3 separate regions of the Homo sapiens genome follow, and regions 1 and 2 are each linked to region 3. Evidence: promoter capture Hi-C in human tissues and cell types (Jung and others, 2019). All regions are on one chromosome and are shown on one strand. Each heading gives the region's core, a stretch centred on a gene start or on the middle of the fragment in contact. The rest is flanking DNA. Distances are from core to core; before and after follow the strand shown.

Evidence for each region. The method cuts DNA at HindIII sites, captures the fragments that hold promoters and counts their contacts. A contact is called where the count stands out against the background at its distance.
Region 1: a fragment that was not itself captured here is called in contact with the fragment with the promoter of SLC38A1 in region 3 in 1 of the 25 tissues and cell types used here (spleen).
Region 2: the fragment with the promoter of ENDOU here is called in contact with the fragment with the promoter of SLC38A1 in region 3 in 1 of the 25 tissues and cell types used here (stomach).

The regions. Positions count from the first base shown.
Region 1 is chr12:47,279,655-47,282,354 of GRCh38, forward strand. No RefSeq gene overlaps it. Among named protein-coding and RNA genes, the nearest start is that of PCED1B-AS1, 65 kb to the left of the region's middle. RefSeq lists a silencer at 1,332-1,626. The HindIII fragment of the contact is 4,624 bases long and covers 1-2,700 here.
Region 2 is chr12:47,724,108-47,726,807 of GRCh38, forward strand. It overlaps ENDOU (endonuclease, poly(U) specific), which reads right to left and starts at 1,383. Exons shown (of 10, transcript NM_001172439.2): 1 at 1,252-1,383. The coding sequence starts at 1,306. The region is part of intron 3 of RPAP3-DT (RPAP3 divergent transcript); the gene reads left to right. RefSeq lists a silencer at 1,898-2,017. The HindIII fragment of the contact is 12,082 bases long and covers 1-2,700 here.
Region 3 is chr12:46,267,593-46,270,292 of GRCh38, forward strand. SLC38A1 (solute carrier family 38 member 1) reads right to left here and starts at 1,451. Exons shown (of 17, transcript NM_030674.4): 1 at 934-1,451. LOC105378248 (a long non-coding RNA gene) reads left to right here and starts at 1,479. Exons shown (of 2, transcript XR_001749101.1): 1 at 1,479-1,566. RefSeq lists enhancers at 851-910, 909-1,891, 1,031-1,080, 1,131-1,230 and silencers at 1,641-1,820, 1,901-2,000. The HindIII fragment of the contact is 6,474 bases long and covers 1-2,700 here.

The sequences.
Region 1 (2,700 bases), core at 154-2,653, 1.0 Mb after region 3:
GGCAAATACTTGCCTATGTCACAGAACTAACATTGGGGTGCTGGTAGAGACAAAGAAATAGCACGTAAACAGGCTGGGTGTGGTGGCTCATGCCTGTAATTCCAGCACTTTGGGAAGCCAAGGCGGGAGGATCACTTGAGGTCAGGAGTTCGAGACCAGCCTGGCCAACATAGCAAAACTCTGTCTCTACTAAAAATACAAAAATTAGCCAAGCGTGGTGGCACATACCTGTAATCCCAGTTACTCAGGAGGCTGAGGCATGAGAATCACTTGAGATCGGGAGGCGGAGTTTGCAGTGAGCTGAGATTGCGTCACTGCACTCCAGCCTGGGTGACAGAGCGAGACTCTCTCTCAAAAAGAAGAAAGAAAGAAATGAAATAACATGTAAACAAATAAAAATTGTTCAGATAGTTATCAATGGGTGAAAAAAATAAAACCAGGTAAAGAGAGAGAATGACTGAGGGTGGGTGTCCAGTATTTTAGCTATGGTGCGCTGGGAAGTCCTATCTCAGGGGCACATTTAATACATGTGAATGTTGAAAAAGAACCAGCCAGGCTAAGATCTATAGTGAGTTGGATAAACTCACTTCTTTTTTTTAGAGGCTCTTTTTTTCTTTTCTTTTTTTTTTTTTTTTTTTGAGACGGAGTCTCACTCTGTTGCCCAGGCTGGAGTGCAGTGGCACAATCTTGGTTCACTGCAAACTCCGCCTCTCAGGTTCAAGCAATTCTCCTGCCTCAGCCTCCCAAGTATCTGGGACTACAGGACGTGCCACCATGCCTGACTAATTTTTATTTTTAGTAGAGACAGGGTTTCACCATGTTGTTCTCAGGCTGGTCTCGAACTCCTGACCTCAGGTGATTCACTCACTTTGGCCTCCCAAAGTGCTGGGATTACAGGCGTGAGCCACCATGCCCGGCCTGAACCTCTCTTCTTATGGTGATCACGAGAGCAGCATTTCCAGTAAGAGAAGGGAAAGCTGTGTCTGATCTTGGGAGGAAGTTGGGTAGGATTTAGGGTGGGAGAATGAAGAAGGAAGGGCAGAGACCAGACTAAAGGATTGTGTAGAGTGGGACAGAGGTGAGGCAAGCGAAGGGAGTTATGCACAAAACTTGCAGAGCCACTCCCTCTCAGGGCCATGCCTGCACAGGGCTGGTGCCCAAGTGTGAATTCTTCCCAAGTGTTTTGCCCTACTTACCTCACCTATTCCTGGCTTTGGGGATTGGCGTGAGGTAGCATGGTCAGAGGATAGCAAGGAGACCCTCTCTGCTAAGGAGAAAAGTAGGCCTGACATCCAGGAGCTGGCCTGGTACTATCAGTAGCCCTCAGTGTTGCCCTGAGCTGGCCTGGAACCAACAGCTAGACTTTGGTGTTCTCTGTGGAAGGGAAACAATTCACAGAACATCAATATCAGACAAGGCCACACCGTGACTACGATGGATCAAGATAAAGGCAAGACCACTTGGCATTCCTGCCTGAACCTGACAAAACATGAGCCTTGTCCAAGCCACAAAATACTAAACATCCTCCCTCTCAGCTAATATGAATGGTAGTTGCTTATTTACTAATTGCAGCTTTAGCTTCCCTCTAGTCTGCCCTCCCTATAAATAACATACTGATCATAGAATTACCCCAGCTTCCTAATAGTAGTCAATGCAGAGCAAAGCCTGGCTTCCTTGGACTCTCCCTCAAATCCTTTTTAGACCCAAAATAGTGGCCCAGCACTGTGGGAGGCCGAGGAGAGTGGATCGCTTCAGCCCAGGAGTTTGAGACCATCCTGGGCAACATGGTGAAACCCCATCTCTACAAAAAATACAAAAATTAGCTGGGTGTGGTGGTATGTACCTTGTAATCTCAGCTACTTGGGAGGCTGAGGTGGGAGGATCACTTGAACCTGGGAGGGCAAGGCTGCAGTGAGCCACGATTGTGCCACTGCACTCCACCCTGGGCAACAGAGCAAGACCCTGTCTCAAAAAAAAATCTTTTTTTTTTTAACACCCTTTTGCTGAGACACCCCAGGGCTCCCCATGGTGTGTGCTTGCCCTGGCTGTGAGTAGTAAACTCAACCTATACAGTGTGTTCCTGGTGGCCTCCAGCTGGAGAGCATTACCACAGGTGAGAATTCATCCTGGCAATGGGTGGAGAGAAATGAGGTTGGGTGGTAAGACTGAGTCAGTTTATGAGCTTGAGCGAATCATCTAAAAGTTACACTGAGGCCATGGAAGGAAACGTGTTGTCAGCTGTCTAGGAGCAAAAACTGACCAGGAGGAGAATTACAGTATTGAAAAATGGTTCTGGCAGTGTTCACAGTTAATGTGTCCATGGGGTGGGTGCCCTGGACTCTTGGCTGCTTTTTTACAGATGAAAAAACTGAAGTAGCAGCTCAGTGACTGCCAAGATCTGCATATTGACTAAGATAAGGCTTCTGAGACTCTCGTTTCTAATGTAGTAGTAGCTCCTAGTCAACCTCCTCCCCCTCCCGCCCTAACCACATGTTGTATTACTAGAAAAATAAAGCCATTTATTGGCTTAAAAATCATTAAATATGAAAATTCCCATGAGAAATTTAATAAATAAAATGATTCGCTCTCTACTTTTGAATTGAATTTTATCATCCATTAAATAAGCAGAGAATGTAGTGTCTTTGCTAAGTTTTCAGTGCTCAGTCTTGTTTTCCCAGGAACATGAACTCCTCTATCCTT
Region 2 (2,700 bases), core at 133-2,632, 1.5 Mb after region 3:
CTGCCCCCCAGGGACCAAATATCCAGAGTTGCTCTCCTTCCCTAAGGCTGGAATATGCCAAGCCCGCTGGCCACCCCTACACATTAAGCCCCCAAGTTCCACCTTCCTCCCAACCAACAGGGCTGAGGCTGGTGGCTCCCAGGCCCACCCTCATGCTCTCCCACTGCCTCTCCACCCACTAGGGCCCAGGCAGAGCTGGTTTCTGGTAAGATGCACTATCTCATCCATGGTTGGGAGGCACAACTTCCTCTTCCAGGGGTTTTCCACTTAGAAATCCCATAAGGGTCTCCTTTCCACAACCCAGTTGGAAATGACCCCAAGCGGAAGTTTCTCCCAAGAAAATTTATAGTCATAATCATAGCGAATTTCCAGTTCACTGAGATCTCACTTTGCACCAGGTGCTTCTCATACATTATTTCATTTAATCCTTTCCACAGTCCTACACAGGAGCAACCCAGTGGAAGGATTCTTTCTCCTGTGGGCAGAGGAGGATTCTCCCCACACTCCTCAGCTCAGCCCCTCCCTTGGCACTCCTTCCCACCCACCCACTAGCTACCAATTAACCCATCAGCACCAGCATTTTGCACAGTTACTAAACAGGAACATGGTCCTGTTCCTCTGCCAGTCCCATCCCCTGGACCTCTCATAACTGTGGGCCAGGTCCCTTCTGTATTCTTCAATTCTCCTAACACTGCAACAGAGATCCATTCCTCTGACCCCTGTACAGCCCCAGATAGGACGAGGCCCACCTCCTGGTCAAAGGTCCTTTCAGTTTCCTCCTAAGCCTGCCCACCTCCTAAGGCTCTACCCAAAGTAACATCACACCCTAAACAACCTCACCTGTCACCAGGCAGTGGAAGGAGTGACCAAGGGCAGCCAGGCCACTCAGACCCCATGGACACCAGCCCTAGCTTTATTCCTTACAGTGGCCCCAGACAACAAAATCTTGGGGAGATCAAAAGTCAGGCTGGACTAAGGGATATTTGGGGCTGATCCTCCAAGGTGTCAAGAAGGGAATTCCATGAAATCAGACCATCAGCCCTGCAACTCTCTCCACATAGTCCAGTCCATTCCGGGACCAACGCCTGCACCCTCAGACAAGGACAACCCAAAAGTGCTCTGCGGCTTTAGGACAGAGCTCACCCTCCCTTGTCCCACGGCCCTGCCCTCTACCAAGTTCTCCAACTCTCTGCTTCTTTAGGCAAGATCCCGCCCCACCAGCAATCCCATGCCCGCCAGATAGTGACTTACCAGCCCAGGCCAGGCCACACAGCACGGCCAATACCAGGGAGATGCAGGCCCTCATGGTGCCCAGTTGGAGGCCAAAAAGGGAGTGGCTGTTGGACTTTCACTAGAGTCAGATGAATGTCACAGCTCTCAGACGAGCCTTATTCCTCAAGCTGATCCTTTTAAAGACACCAGGACTTGTGGAGCTGGTGTCTCCAGATCCTTTCAGGAAGAAAAAGGGGAGGGAGGGACCCTAGATGGATAGGAGGTGGGGCCCTACAGCTGTTTGAAGCCTGAGGGAAGGTGACTAAGAAGGTAGGTAATGCCAGATGTTGAGAACAGGTAATGCTAGCTGTTTGCAGCTTAAAAAATAGGTCATGCAGGCAGGCACACCAAGATGGGTCCAGTTTGGAGGGTTCTTTGTCCAAATTAGGGACACCCATGGGCTGATCTTTGGGTGATCCCCACCAAACAGACACCTACTTCCAAGTCTCAGACCTGACTTTCCAAGGGGCCACAGGTTGGATTCATCTTCAAATTCCTGGAGCTTAGCATGACACTGGCACACAGTAAGGTGATTGGTCCAAATTTGACAAACAGTAAGTGCCCAAGCAAGGGTTGGGGTCATTGGACAGAGAGATAGAGGATGTGTCGGTCAGAACCAGTGCTATTCTTATGACCACCAAGCCCAGCATAGCTAAATCAGCCACATGTCGAGCGCATGGCTAAATCACTCTAAAATATTATGCAAATGACTCTTACTGAGTCAGCCTCTGGGGTTTAAACGTTTCAGATTCCTTATGAGGCAGGGGAGGGGCAAGAGGCCTCTTAAAGGCAGCCGAAGGCCCACTCTTCTTCCCCTGGGAGCCCAGGGTTTCACTCCCTTCACCCCAACTTACACTCCTCTCCTCAGGAACTCCTCCCCAGTGAGGTTCTTTTGTTTCCAAGTCCAAAAGAAGGGGAGCAGCTCCCCGTGACTGTCCAGTTTTCCCCGATAATAAAGGTAAAATCTGCCAAGTATGATGCCCTTGCCAGAAAGAGCACTGCATGGGGATTCTCAACCCTCTCAGGAAAGAAAACTATCATATAAAAAGGCAAAATTGGTGAACAGTGGAGGCCACTCTATCAGTGATTTTTTTCTGGAGGTTGGGAGTGGAGCACGTCTTCATCCAGTGTGCTTTAACAGGAGAAGTTTCTTCCTCTCGCTGGTCTTCAGCTTTCTCATCTGAAATGATGGGGTTGGATCTGACAATCCCTTCCAGGTTCTCAGACTTTAATCTCGAGTTTTCCTGCCCATGCGCCAGGTTGAACAGTTGCTGGTGGGTTAAAGAGAATCCCCCAGCCTGTTGCTGTGTAGAGAGGAGTCCAAACATAGGGACTCAGGGGTAGAGAGAAGGACAAGCCTAGGGCAAGCAAACTTTGCAAGGGGCTCACACAGGAAGTGCAATGTATGTATATATTTTGAGATGGAAT
Region 3 (2,700 bases), core at 201-2,700:
CCCCATGCGCCAGGAGGTGGATAATTTAGGGGGCAAGGGGCTCGCACAAGGGCGAAGATGCGCTCTCCTCCCGGCACCGACCCACGCGTTTAAAGGCCTCTGCGGCAACGTTTAGGGACGCGAACTAGGTGCCGGGGGTTGGGGAGGAGGTGGGACTGGAAGCGAGAGCAGTCTGCGCCCAAGACCGCGCAAGAGGTGGCCTTTTGTTCGCTGGCTCCAGCACATCCCGGCTCTCGAAAAAACACTACCTCTGTCCCCTGCCACCCTCTGCATTTTAGAAAATCCTCTTCAGGGCAGGAAAGGACAGTGAGTCACTGCAAGCATCCTTTAGTAATTTCTCCCCGCGCCCTCCTACTTCCCCGCGTTACAGAGGGGCAGAGCACCAGGAAGGACGGCAAACATGCCCCGGTTTAGTGGTGGTCCGCGGCCGCTACCCAGCCGGCCGCACGCAGCACCCCCCGGACATCACACGATCTCCTCTGGGCCTTGCGGACACAGGAAATTTTCACCAAAGGCCGGGGATTCAAACACTCCCAGAACACGGTCGCGCCCTCGGGTCAGCTGCGCTCTCCCTCCAGACGTGCGTGGTTCCTGGCTCTCGTAAAAATGGAACCAGATCTGGTACCACACTCTGCCACAGCCACAGGAAAACACACCAAAGTCACAGGAAAACAAACCAAAAAGTAAGCCACAGCCCACGCAAAGGTGAACTCGGGGGCCCTGGCGCTTCCTCCCGCTGCCGCGTGCGTTCGGGAAGCACAGGAGACCTGGACTTTTCCTCTCCTAAAAGCAACATCCGAAAGCATCGGGCACAGCCGAGCTCTCTCTGCTTTCACGCCCGCAGAGATGATTTCTACGTTACCTCCTCCTCCGACATCTAAATCTCCCCTTGCCGCTCGCCCAGCCCTCCCCGGGAACGGATAATCACCTTACCTCCGGAAATAAAGGGAAAGGTGGCAAAAGGCGATGTGGAGGTGTCCGCCCTTCCGGGGTTTTTACCCTCGGCAGTTTGATGTCCTTTGTGTCAAGGTCTGGCTGCGGAGGCCGGGAAAATGTGGCCCCCGTCAGTAAGGGTTGGGCAGGGAGCTTGGCGTGGCCTGGCGGATTTCGGAGGAAGGTGAAGGGCGGAGGCTCCTGGCGACCTTCTGGCGGAGTGGCGTGGCCGCCCCAGTCCGCGCTCGCCTGGCTCTCCTCCTTTCCGGGCCGATTGCATCAGAATCTCCCCTCACCACCAACCCCCACTCACACTCTGCTCGCCGGCCTCGCACTTACATCGACATGCACCGGCGCTGAGGGTCACGAATCGGAGTCATTCTCCTACTGGGGGACGCGTGGCCCTTCCGCAACCATGGCTTGTGATGGTTTAACGCGGACAGGCCATTCCTCCCCGTCCCGCGCGCGGTCTCCTCCCCTCCTGTGCGCCCGCTCTTTAACCAAAGCTGCGTGTCAGTGAGCCGTGCCGGTCACATGGTGTCACTGCTGGCGGCCGCACCTTGCTGCCTCCCTCTTGCAGCTCTCTGACGATGCAGCGACCGCGGCTGGCGGAGATTGAGCAACGGGGAAAGGGTGAGGGAGGGGTTGCGGGGCGCGCGTGTGCCCGGCGCACTGAAGCTGGCACCGGGAGCAGAGGCTGCGCGCCGCCCTGGCACCTGCCCCTCTCCCTCCCGGGGCCCGGCGGCGTGTTCGGAACCCAGCTGCGGCTGCAGCTGGAGAATGAGAGCCCTTAGGGATGGGGGTGGGGCGGCTAAAGGGGCACCGGCGGAGGACAGGAGGGCTGTGCGTTCCGCTGGGGCCTGCATTTTGGGTACGCCAGAGCCCCGCCGGGGCCGAAGGAGCGAGGGAGTTGCATTGTGGGAAGGGCGCAGCATGAGGATGGCCGCGGGAGTGGCAGGTCCGAGCGCAGCCCGGAGAGCCGCGGGCAGCGCCTGGGACTACGGGCAGCGTTGGAGCGGAGGGCTGGCCCTGGGCACAGCCTGCAGATGGCCCGGGTTGGCGGGAAGGGGACCGAAGTGGCAGGGGCGGCGGGGAGCTCGGGCACCTTTAAAAACCCTTTGTCCCTAACCTGAAGCGGGAGGCACCTCCCCTCTTCCGGATCCAGCACCCGCAGACCTGGTCAGCCCTTCCTGAGATCTGCCCTGTGGAGCTCTGCTTTGGGGACTGGGTGTGAGGTGAACCAGAAGGATTTGCTGAGCACCGAGAAAGCACCGGCCTAGGCGCAAAGAGCCGGGGGCCAGCTCTTGGAGGGCCTGGAGACCCCACGTGGTCCCGACCGAAGGACCTGGTGCGTCCAGGTTAACGGAGCTGGGGCGCTCCAAGTCCGGGGGACGAGGGAGCGGCATGGAGGGGAGCAGGGGCAACTGGGCCTGGTTCCCTTTTTTCCCGCTTACTCTTTGTTTCAGACACAGCCCCCTTTCACTGGCTGGGCACTTGCTTGCAGAGGAGTTGTGTCTTAAAATGGCGACAGGAAATCCCACCTGCGCCTCAGCCAATTAGACTGTCATAGCGCGAATTTGCAGGGTGGAAACGCGAGCTTTTTATTGATAGGGAAGGTTCAGTCTCCTGTTCATGGTTCATCAAAACAGGAAAGGGAAGGTGAATCATAATTCAAAAATTAACTACCTGGAGCGTTTCAAGTAGACAGTAGTCATTGTATTTGGGTGAATTTTGCTTTTTCATCACCACTGGAAAAGCAAGATGATA